2 separate regions of the Homo sapiens genome follow, and region 2 is linked to region 1. Evidence: promoter capture Hi-C in 16 types of primary human blood cells and fetal thymus (Javierre and others, 2016). All regions are on one chromosome and are shown on one strand. The core of a region is centred on a gene start or on the middle of the fragment in contact, and the rest is flanking DNA. Distances in the headings are between cores, read along the strand shown.

What was found. The method cuts DNA at HindIII sites, captures the fragments that hold promoters and counts their contacts. A CHiCAGO score of 5 or more calls a contact.
Region 2: a contact is called between a fragment that was not itself captured here and the fragment with the promoter of ZNF487 in region 1, in 1 of 17 cell types (total B cells). The highest score is 5.0, in total B cells.

The regions. Positions count from the first base shown.
Region 1 is chr10:43,434,898-43,439,708 of GRCh38, forward strand. It overlaps ZNF487 (zinc finger protein 487), which reads left to right and starts at 2,214. Exons shown (of 4, transcript NM_001355444.3): 1 at 2,214-2,365. RefSeq lists an enhancer at 1,669-1,738 and a silencer at 1,839-2,498. The HindIII fragment of the contact is 37,036 bases long and covers 1-4,811 here.
Region 2 is chr10:42,783,040-42,787,850 of GRCh38, forward strand. BMS1 (BMS1 ribosome biogenesis factor) reads left to right here. Exons shown (of 23, transcript NM_014753.4): 2 at 1,323-1,531; 3 at 2,443-2,633; 4 at 4,129-4,208. The coding sequence starts at 1,356. Among named protein-coding and RNA genes, the nearest start is that of BMS1, 2.6 kb to the left of the region's middle. The HindIII fragment of the contact is 1,222 bases long and covers 1,681-2,902 here.

The DNA of each region.
Region 1 (4,811 bases), core at 964-3,463:
CACTCCAGCCTGGGCGACAGAGCAAGACTCCTTCTCAAAAAAAAAAAAAAAAAATTTTTTTTAAATCCAGAAAGCAGGAGGAATAGAGAGGAGCTAAAGCTGTCATTGGAGAAAAAGCAGTAATTACTCATGCTAGCTGAAGAAGGGATGTTTATTCTTCTGTGTGTGTGGTTGCGCAGTGCCAGTTTTTATTTATGCAGGCAAGATCACTGATCGGAATTATTTTCTCCTTCCCTCAGTCACAGAAAGAACTCGTCTGATATCAATTTTCTGTGAACCTGTTTATGTTCATCAAGTAATCCAGGCCAGCTACCGTGGGTCTCAGGGCTTTTTTTTTTTTTTTTTTTTTTTTTTGGGACAGAGTCTCGCTCTTGTTGCCCAGGCTGGAGTGCAATGGCGAGATCTCGGCTCACAGCAACCTCTGCCTCCCGGGTGCAAGCTATTCTCCTGCCTCAGCCTCCCGAATAACTGGGATCACAGGCATGTGCCACCACACCCAGCTAATTTTGAATTTTTAGTAGAGTTGGAGTTTCACCATGTAGGCCAGACTGATCTTAAACTCCTGATCTCAGGTGATCCACCCGCCTTGGCCTCCCAATGTGTTAGGATTACAGGCGTAAGCCACCACGCCCGGGCTTTTTATTTTTTTTCTTAATGATGCTGCACCTAATCACATTTAGGTGGCAGGCAAAAGAATATTGCTTAGCTGCTTTGCTACAGAAATGACAACTCTTGGGCAGGGGCGCGGTGGCTCACGCCTGTAATCCTACCACTTTGGGAGGCCGAGGCCAGTGGATCACCTGAGGTCAAGAGTTCGACACCAGGCCGGGCACGGTGGCTCATGCCTGTAATCCCAGCACTTTGGGAGGCCGAGACGGGCGGATCACGAGGTCAGGAGATCAAGACCAACCTGGCTAACACGGTGAAACCCCGTCTCTACTAAAAATACAAAAAATTAGCCGGGCGTGGTGGCGGGCGCCTGTAGTCCCAGCTACTCGGGAGGCTGAGGCAAGACAATGGCGTGACCCTGGGAGGCGGAGCTTGCAGTGAGCTGAGATCGCGCCACTGCACTCCACCCTGGGTGACAGAGCGAGACTCCGTCTCAAAAAAAAAAAAAAAAAAAAAAAAAAAGAGTTCGACACCAGCCTGGCCAAAATGGTGAAACCCCATCTCTACTAAAAACAAAAAAAATTAACCGGGCGTGGTGGCGGACGACTGTAATCCCAGCTACTCGGGAGCCTGAGGTAGGAGAATCACTTGAACTCGGGAGGCGGAGGTTGCAGTGAGCCAAGATCGCGCCACTGCACTCCAGCCTGGGCAACAAGAGCGAAACTTCGTCTCCAAAAAAAAAAAAAAAAAAAAGGACAACTTTTGATCCCTGAGGCTGCTAATTCCAACTGTGTGCATGTGCTTAACAAATACCTCCGCACCCAGGCCTGGGAAGTTGGCTGATTTGTGTACAGCAAATACGGCAGGCCTGATGTAGCAGAACTCTGACGAAAACGAACTGGACGCGTATTTCTCCTGCAGCGAAGGTCACGCTGCTGACAGCCTCTGCTTTGCACTTTGTCCCTGGGAAGGAGGCCTGTGGCCAGTCCTACCTCCTGGAAAGCCGGGGTGCGTCAGAGGACCTGATGCGGAGCGGGGACCCCATCCTCTCCGTGTCTCCCCAAGAGCCGGCGGCAGAGGCTGCCTGCGCTCCTTAAGCTAGGTCAGTTCTCTGGCCCGCAGTTCTCGTTCTCCTAACATCCTCCGCAGAAAACGACCTTCATTTTTTCCTCTTGCGCCAGTCTTGAAGCGGGGCGTCCTTTGGGCTCACGTTGCGGCGCCCAGCGGCCTCAAGCGTCAGCTGCCTCCAGGGCCTCAGGAGCAGTGGCTAGGGCCTGCCCTCCAGCGCCCGGGGTCCTCGGCCCAGCCCTGCTCCGAGCGCGTCACAATGGCGTCGCGGCCCCGCCCCCGGACGCCCAGCCGCGGTCCCAGCGACCTTCGCTTTCGTGGGGAAGCCGGACTGCGCCGTGTCTTCCTGAAGAAGGCTGGGGTAAGAGTCCGGCCAGCGGACAAGAGGGCAGCTGGTAGCAGGGTGGGATGCCCGTGGCATAGGGCCGAGCCCCCGCTAGGCACGCGGGAGCAGCAAGGCTTCCGGAAGCGCAGGGAGCGCTGGACTGGCGGGCGCCCGGGATTCGCGCAGGCCCCGCCCCTCGGCGGCCCCGCCCAGGGAGCGCTGCGGCAGTTTCCATGGTGAGATGGTCAACAAGCCTGTAAGTTCCTCAGCTACGACTACCAGGTACCTCGGGTTCCTCCCTCCTCCGAGAGACCGCCGAGGTGCGGGCTGTGAGAGGGGGAGCGTGGAGCCTCCGAGGCCGAGGTGAGGGGCGGCCGGCGGGCAGGGGCCGGGTCTGAGGTCGAGGGCCGCACACCCAGGATCGAGCGGGGACTGGGCCCGCTGGGGGTGGGGACCGTGGGGCTGGGATTTGGGATCAGGGCGAGTCGTGGCAGAGAGAACCCGGAGGATCTTTGACCCCAGTGCGGGAGCGGCCAGCCCACCCTAGAGAAGCGAGACAAGGGCAACCAGAAGGAACCGAGTCTGAGGAAGCGCTTCCTCTGGGCAGGGATATTGGGAGAGTCCTGGACGAGTGACCCTGGACCTAGGAGGCATGAGAGGTCTACACACACTTGCAAGGATACCTTCATGATTGTTGAGTTGTGGTGAGAAAAGAGGCTCTTTTTAGTTTATTTTTTAAGGCAGTACATTCACATCCTTAAGAGTCAGAAACTTGCACAAGGCCTTATTACTCAAAACTCCCTTTTCCCAGTTCCTTCTGAGGAAATAGTTGCAAATCTTTGAACTTTTTTCCTCCGGAAATTTTCTTTTTTTCTCTTACATCGGCAGCTCTTCACTGTGTTCTTCCTTCATTAGCTTTACTAAGTTTGTATTCTTTGGTTGGAAATATTTATTTATTTATTTATTTATAAATAGAAACAGGGGTATCACTATGTTGCTCAGGCTGGTCTTGAACTCCTGGGCTCAAGTGATTCTCCTGCTTTAGCTTTCCAAAGTGCGGGGATTACAGGCTGAACCACCGCCTGCCACCGAAATATTTCTTCATTGAGTTCCTTTGCCTCCTAGTGTTACTTTTCTGCTGTGTGTGTAATAGCCATTTGTTTTTTCTTTCTCCTTTCTGGTCATATCCTTAAATACATTTTGCACTAATTCCTTTTGAAACCTCATCATGGAGAGAACTTGAATTTAGCAGATTAGGGGTGAGTGCAGGCTTTTGTCTTAGGTTCCATATATATATATATTTTGAGGTGGAGTCTCCCTCTGTCGCCCAGGCTGGAGTGCAGTGGCGTGATTTTGGCTCACTGAAACCTCCACCTCCTGGCTTCAAGCAATTCTCCTGCCTCAGCCTCCCAAGTGACGAGGGTTACAGGCACGTGCCACCACACCCGGCTAATTTTTGTATTTTTAGTAGAGACAGGGTTTTGCCTTGTTGGCCAGGCTGGTCTCGAATTATTGACCTCAGGTGATCCACCTGCCTCAGCCCCCCAAAGTGCTGGGATTACAGGCGTGAGCCACTGCACCCAGCCCCCATATATTAAGAAATATACCCTTGTGTATTGTTGGTAAGAATGTAAAATGGTACAGCAGCTATGGAAAACAGTATGGCAGTTCCCTCAAAAAATTAACAAATAGAATTGCCATATGATCCAGCAGTACCACTTCTGGGTCTGAATCCAAGAGAAATGAAAGCGGGGACTCAGTTACTTGTACAGTCATGTTCATAGCAGCATTATTTGCAATAGTCAAAAGGGAGAGGTAACCCCAGTGTCCATTGATAGATGGATAAACAAAATGTGTCATATACAATAGAATATCATTCAGCCTTAGGAAGAAAATCTTGGCTGGATGCAGCGGCTCATGCTGGTAATCCCAGCACTTTGGGAGGCCAAGGTGGGAGGATTGCTTGAGTCCAGGAGTTCCAGACCAGCCTGAGCAACATAGCGAGATCCTGTTTCCACAAAAAATAAAATAAAATAAAGAATACAAAAATTAGCTGGGCAGGCCGGGCGCGGTGTCTCACGCCTGTAGTCCCAGCACTTTGGGAGGTCGAGGTGGGTGGATCAGAGGGTCAGGAGTTTGAGACCAGCCTGGCCAATATGGTGAAACCTTGTCTCTACTAAAAGTACAAAAATATTAGCCGGGCATGGTGGCACATGCCTGTAATCCCAGCTACTTGAGAGGCTGAGGCAGAAGAATTGCTTGAATCCGGGAGGCCGAGGTTGCAGTGAGCCGAGATCACGCCACTGCACTCCAGCCTGGGTGACAGAACGAGATTCCGTCTCAAAAAAAAATCAGCTGGGCATTGTGGCATGTGCCTGTAGTCCTAGCTACTCTGGAAGCTGAAGTCGGAGGATTACATGTGCCTAGGAGGTTGAGGCTTCAGTGAGCCATGATTGCACTGCTGTACTCCACCCTGAGTGACAGAGCAAGACTCCATCTCTTCAAAAAATAAAAATAAGATGGCCGGGTGCGGTGGCTAACGCCTGTAATCCCAGCACTTGGGGAGGCCGAGGAGGGCAGATCACCTAAGGTCAGGAGTTCAAGACCAGCCTGGCCAACATGGTGAAACCCTGTCTCTACTAAAAATACAAAAATTAGCTGGGCATGGTGGTGGGCGCCTGTAATCCCAACTACTCAGGAAGCTGAGGCAGGGAGAATTGCTTGAACCTGGGAGGTGGAGGTTGCAGTGAGCCGAGATGGCACCACTACACTCTAGCCTGGGTGACAGAGTGAGACTCCATCTCAAAAA
Region 2 (4,811 bases), core at 1,042-3,541, 650 kb before region 1:
AGGGAAGGTGGCTGGGCGACGTCGTTTCCTGGCGACGTGGTCCCGGTAGGAGACTTAGACCTGAGCTGGATCTGTTGACCCCAAATTGTGCTTTTCCCACCAAGAAGAAAGACAGGGAGAGAAACATTAGTACAAGTGCTGAACTAAAATATAGCAGAGAAGAAACATAATCTCTGAAATCACACAGCTATTCGGTTTCAAAGCGTTCCTAGCGCCCAGCTCTCCTAACTCCTGGCCAGTGTTCTTGACATTATGGTAATACATAAAGACTTTGTTTCCGCTGGTGTGTGTCTGTGGGAAGCCTCTGACTCACCTCCGTGCTCCAGTAGCACCCTGTGCAGCCTTCCAATGTCGCCCTTATTGCGTGGCGCGGAAGATAATAGTTTGGATTTCCTCTGCAAGTCAGATAATAGCTGTATCCACTTACTGGCACAGTGCCTAGCACATCGTAGACAGACACAAATATTTATTCAACGGAATGAATACAGTACCTTAATTGAATGAAATGGCATCCTGCTCCGCTTTTTTTTTTTAATCAAGCTGTCAGATTTTATGCAGCCCGATTTCCTAAAATAACTCACTAATTCAGTGATTGCCAATTTATTAGCCACAGATTCCCAGGTAACTCAGAAATCACTGGAAGGGTCTCTGTAAGTTCATGGGGTCTCCAGGTGTCATCTAGAACCAGTCCTATCTCACACGTACAGCTATTTCTATTTTTCAAATGTATGTAGATAAGTTGTAATTTAGGAGTTTTACAGAGTCAACAGGTACTAAAAGTAATACTGCGATCATATTGGAGGTTCATAAAAACGTTTCACATTTTTTTATTAAAATTTAAGTTTTAGTTTAAGTTAGGAAACCACTTCATCAGTCCAGTTGATACCTGGGTCTGAGCTGTCCAGTATGGTAGCCACATGTGACTATTTGGAGTTAGAATGAAATTAATTAAAAACTCATTTTTTCAGTTTCCCTAAGTATATTGTAAGTAACCACATGTGGCTAATGGCTAAATGGCTGAAAAGTACAGATATAGTATATTTCTATCCTTGCAGAAATAGATACTGCTGATGTTGACACTTAAGATGAATAAAAAGTAACTTAACCATAAAATGTAATCTTAAGAGAGGTAACTCATCTAATTTATAGCATAACAGAGAGAAATGAAATTGGGGATGGTTAAGCAGTTTCTACCCTTGTTCAGTGAACAAATACATCATCTCTTCATAAAGAAATAAATGAAATTTACTGTTTTTCCCTGGGTATTGCCTGGATTGTAAAATGCTTCTCCCATCTCCTTACCCCAACCTTCTTCCTTGTAGGTTAGAGTTACTTGTTATTGGTAAATAGCCACTATGGAGGCTAAGGACCAGAAGAAACACAGAAAGAAAAACAGTGGACCCAAAGCTGCAAAGAAAAAGAAGCGGCTTCTGCAGGATCTCCAGCTAGGAGACGAAGAAGATGCCCGGAAGAGAAATCCCAAAGCTTTTGCAGTTCAGTCTGCTGTGCGGATGGCTCGATCCTTTCACAGGTATGTTAGGCTACGGTCTGGTCATTCTTCCATTGATTCTTTTTTTAAATAGTAGGAGCCTCTCACAGGTGACATTTGGATTCACGAGTCTAGTCCAGCTCCAAAGGACATGGAGATTCATGGTGTGTGGCTTTCACTAAAACGTGAGAAGCTTTTCCCATAGAAGCTGCCTTGCCTCCAGCATCTGCATACTGGTTAGTGTTTATTGCCCAGGATACAAGAATTTATAGACTTTGTTTGTTCCTAAATTTTAAACTGTTTCTATGGTGATAAGTGTGCTTTTTCCCCCCAGGTATGTTTTACATAGTTGTAATATAAAATACAAAAATTACAATATTTAATACTAACATAGCTTTATTTAGTGAGCCCTTGTGATATGCCTAGCAGTGTACTTTAAACATTATTCAACTAAATCCTTCCAGCAGCCTTACCAGAGTAGGAATCATTCTTGCCCTCATTTTATGGGTAAGAAAACTGAGATCAAGAAAACAAGTTACCTCCAATCATATAACCAGTAAGTAGGAGAGCTAAATGTAACTCCAGCGCCTCTGCTCTTATCTGCTATGATGTACTGCCTCGCTATTTACCTTTTGGTTTTTTAAAAAACTATTAAAATCACTCTTAAAACAGTCAGATTTAAGGAGTGTTTAATTTTCGCTCTCTATAGTATTGAAGTCATCTTGTTACATCTTTATTGAACAGCAATTATTTGGATGGGGCCAGAAGTTAGCAAGTTAATAATTGACAAGTTAATTATATTTATATATTGTCTGTTGTACTCTCTATAAAATGTGCTAAAGTACTCATAGCTATAAGTGTACCAAAAAAGTCTACTTATAAGGTTGATACCTTTTACTCTATTTTGAAAATGAGTTTACTATTTATTTATTTGTTTATTTTTTAATGAATAGGACTCAGGATTTGAAGACAAAAAAGCATCATATTCCAGTGGTTGATCGAACTCCACTAGAGCCCCCACCAATAGTGGTAGTGGTGATGGGACCTCCAAAAGTTGGAAAGAGCACTTTGATACAATGCCTCATTCGGAACTTTACCCGGCAGAAGTTGACTGAGATCAGAGGCCCTGTGACGATTGTGTCAGGTAGGAGATGCCACCACAGACACAGAGTTGGCGTGGCTGTTGTCATCTGAGGGACATGCATGCGTTTGTTGTTTTCTTGAGTGGAACATGTTAAATATTGTCATATCATGGGACTTCTCTTATACTTAGTATTACTAAGTTGGCTATAGCTTCAGAAAAGGGTAAGTTCCCAGAGATAAGGATGTGATAATGTTCACATTTCCTCCCAGCACTCTGGGAGGTTCCAAGGCAGGAAGATACTCGAACCCAGCACTCGGGCTGGAAAATCAAGCTTTGCTGCTCGATTGCGACACCAGCCACAGTCCTCTTCCTCCGTGTAGAAGGATGTGTGGTCCAGCCTCTTAAGGTGATGCTTTCCTTTTCTTCCTGGTTTCCTCCTCCATTTTTTGTATGAGAAATGATAATGTTCACTATGTCTTATCCTGACTGCTCTTTGGCTTTGCCAAACATGTTCCTTGGAAGGGCCTAGCAGGCCTAGTCACCGTGAACACATCATTTAACAGATAGCACGCACCTCCTATGTGCCAGGTGCATATGCTTGCCTTATGAAGCCACATTCTGGTGGAAGTGCGAGTTTTCTCTTTTTCCTGTGAGAATTGTCTGCTTTGGGAGATGGTGACCTTTCCGAGTTTGAGGGAAAATGAAACAAACTTCCAGTGGTAGAATGGCAATGTACACTCTGAAATCTCTTGTTATTGCAATAATATAGTTGGATTGAGGCTTTTCTTTATCTTTGGAGCATCCATATTTTCTTTTCCCTTTTTTGAGACAGAGTCTTACTCTGTGGTACAGGCTGGAGTGCAGTGGTGTGATTACGGCTCACTGCAGCCTCTACCTCCCAGGTTCAAGCATTCCTCCTACCTTAGCCTCCTGAGTAGTGTATGCCACCACGCCTGGCTAATTTTTCTTTTTTTTCCTTTTTTTTTTTTTTCTGTAGAGATGGGGTTTCCCCATATGGCCCAGGCTGGTCTCAAAACTCCTGGGCTCAAGGGATCCGCCTGCCTTGGCCTCCCAAGTTGCTGGGACTACAGGCGAGAGCTACTGTGCCCAGCCCATATTTTCTTGACTGTTTTATTTTTACCTTAATTTAGAAGTAATTATTGTTATGAATATTCTGTTGCATTATGTTTGAGGATGTTTGTAGCTCTAGTGGGAATACGGGAAGTTTTGATAGAGGCAAAGACATTGGGCCTGCAGCTGAACAGCAGGATCATGGTTATCATGGAGTCTGTGCAGTCAGAATTTTCCCTTTTTGAGCACTTTTATTCATCTGGGTAGACTTTTGATGTTATTTAAATTTAGAACACAGCAAGAAAAACAGAATGGAATTTATTTTATTTTATCAGTTTTTGCCTGTAAAAATGAACTTCTTGTATGCTCCTGTAAATGTATATGATGTTTTACTGGATGCAGTTAAAAAATGAAAATTAAGAGTTGATGGTTAGAGTTTTTTCAGGGTCTTTTTAAAGTAAAATTTTCATCTTTTCACTTATAGGTAAAAAGCGCAGACTCACCATTATTGAATGTGGGTGTGACATTAACATGATGATTGATCTGGCTAAAGTAGCAGATCTGGTAAGTGAGCAGGGGCAGCCTGGGGTGCTGATGGAGACTTACAGCATTGTGATAGGTTATTTACCCCGTGATGAAGGGAAGAGAGTCTTATAATTATTAAAAGAATCATGGTCATCATCAGTGATACGGTAGATATGATTGAATTGATGATAATTATGGTAATAAATGTTGTTATGTTAATAATAAAAATGGAATGTGCACAATGAAATGTGTTCCAAAATCTAAAAGCAAATCACAGGATGGAGAAAACCTTTAATGAACACAACTAATAAGAGCTCATTAATATGTATACATATATACGTACAAATATATCATAGTAAGTACCATTTCTTCTTGGACTCTTCCTGGCACTGTGCTAACTGCTTTCTACAAATTTAGCTTACATAAACCCTTGATACACCCTTGAGGTGAGTAGGTATTATCTGTAGTTTACATAAGATGAAATAGAGCCTGCCAGCAGTTAAGTAACTTGTGTGAAGTTGGGACCCTTGTTCCTGATGGTTCCAGAACCTTCATCCTTAATGATAATGCTGAAGTAAGTACATGAATTGCCCTGAAGAAGTGGTCAGTTTATCAATAAAAAGTCTAGACAGTCCTCAGTGT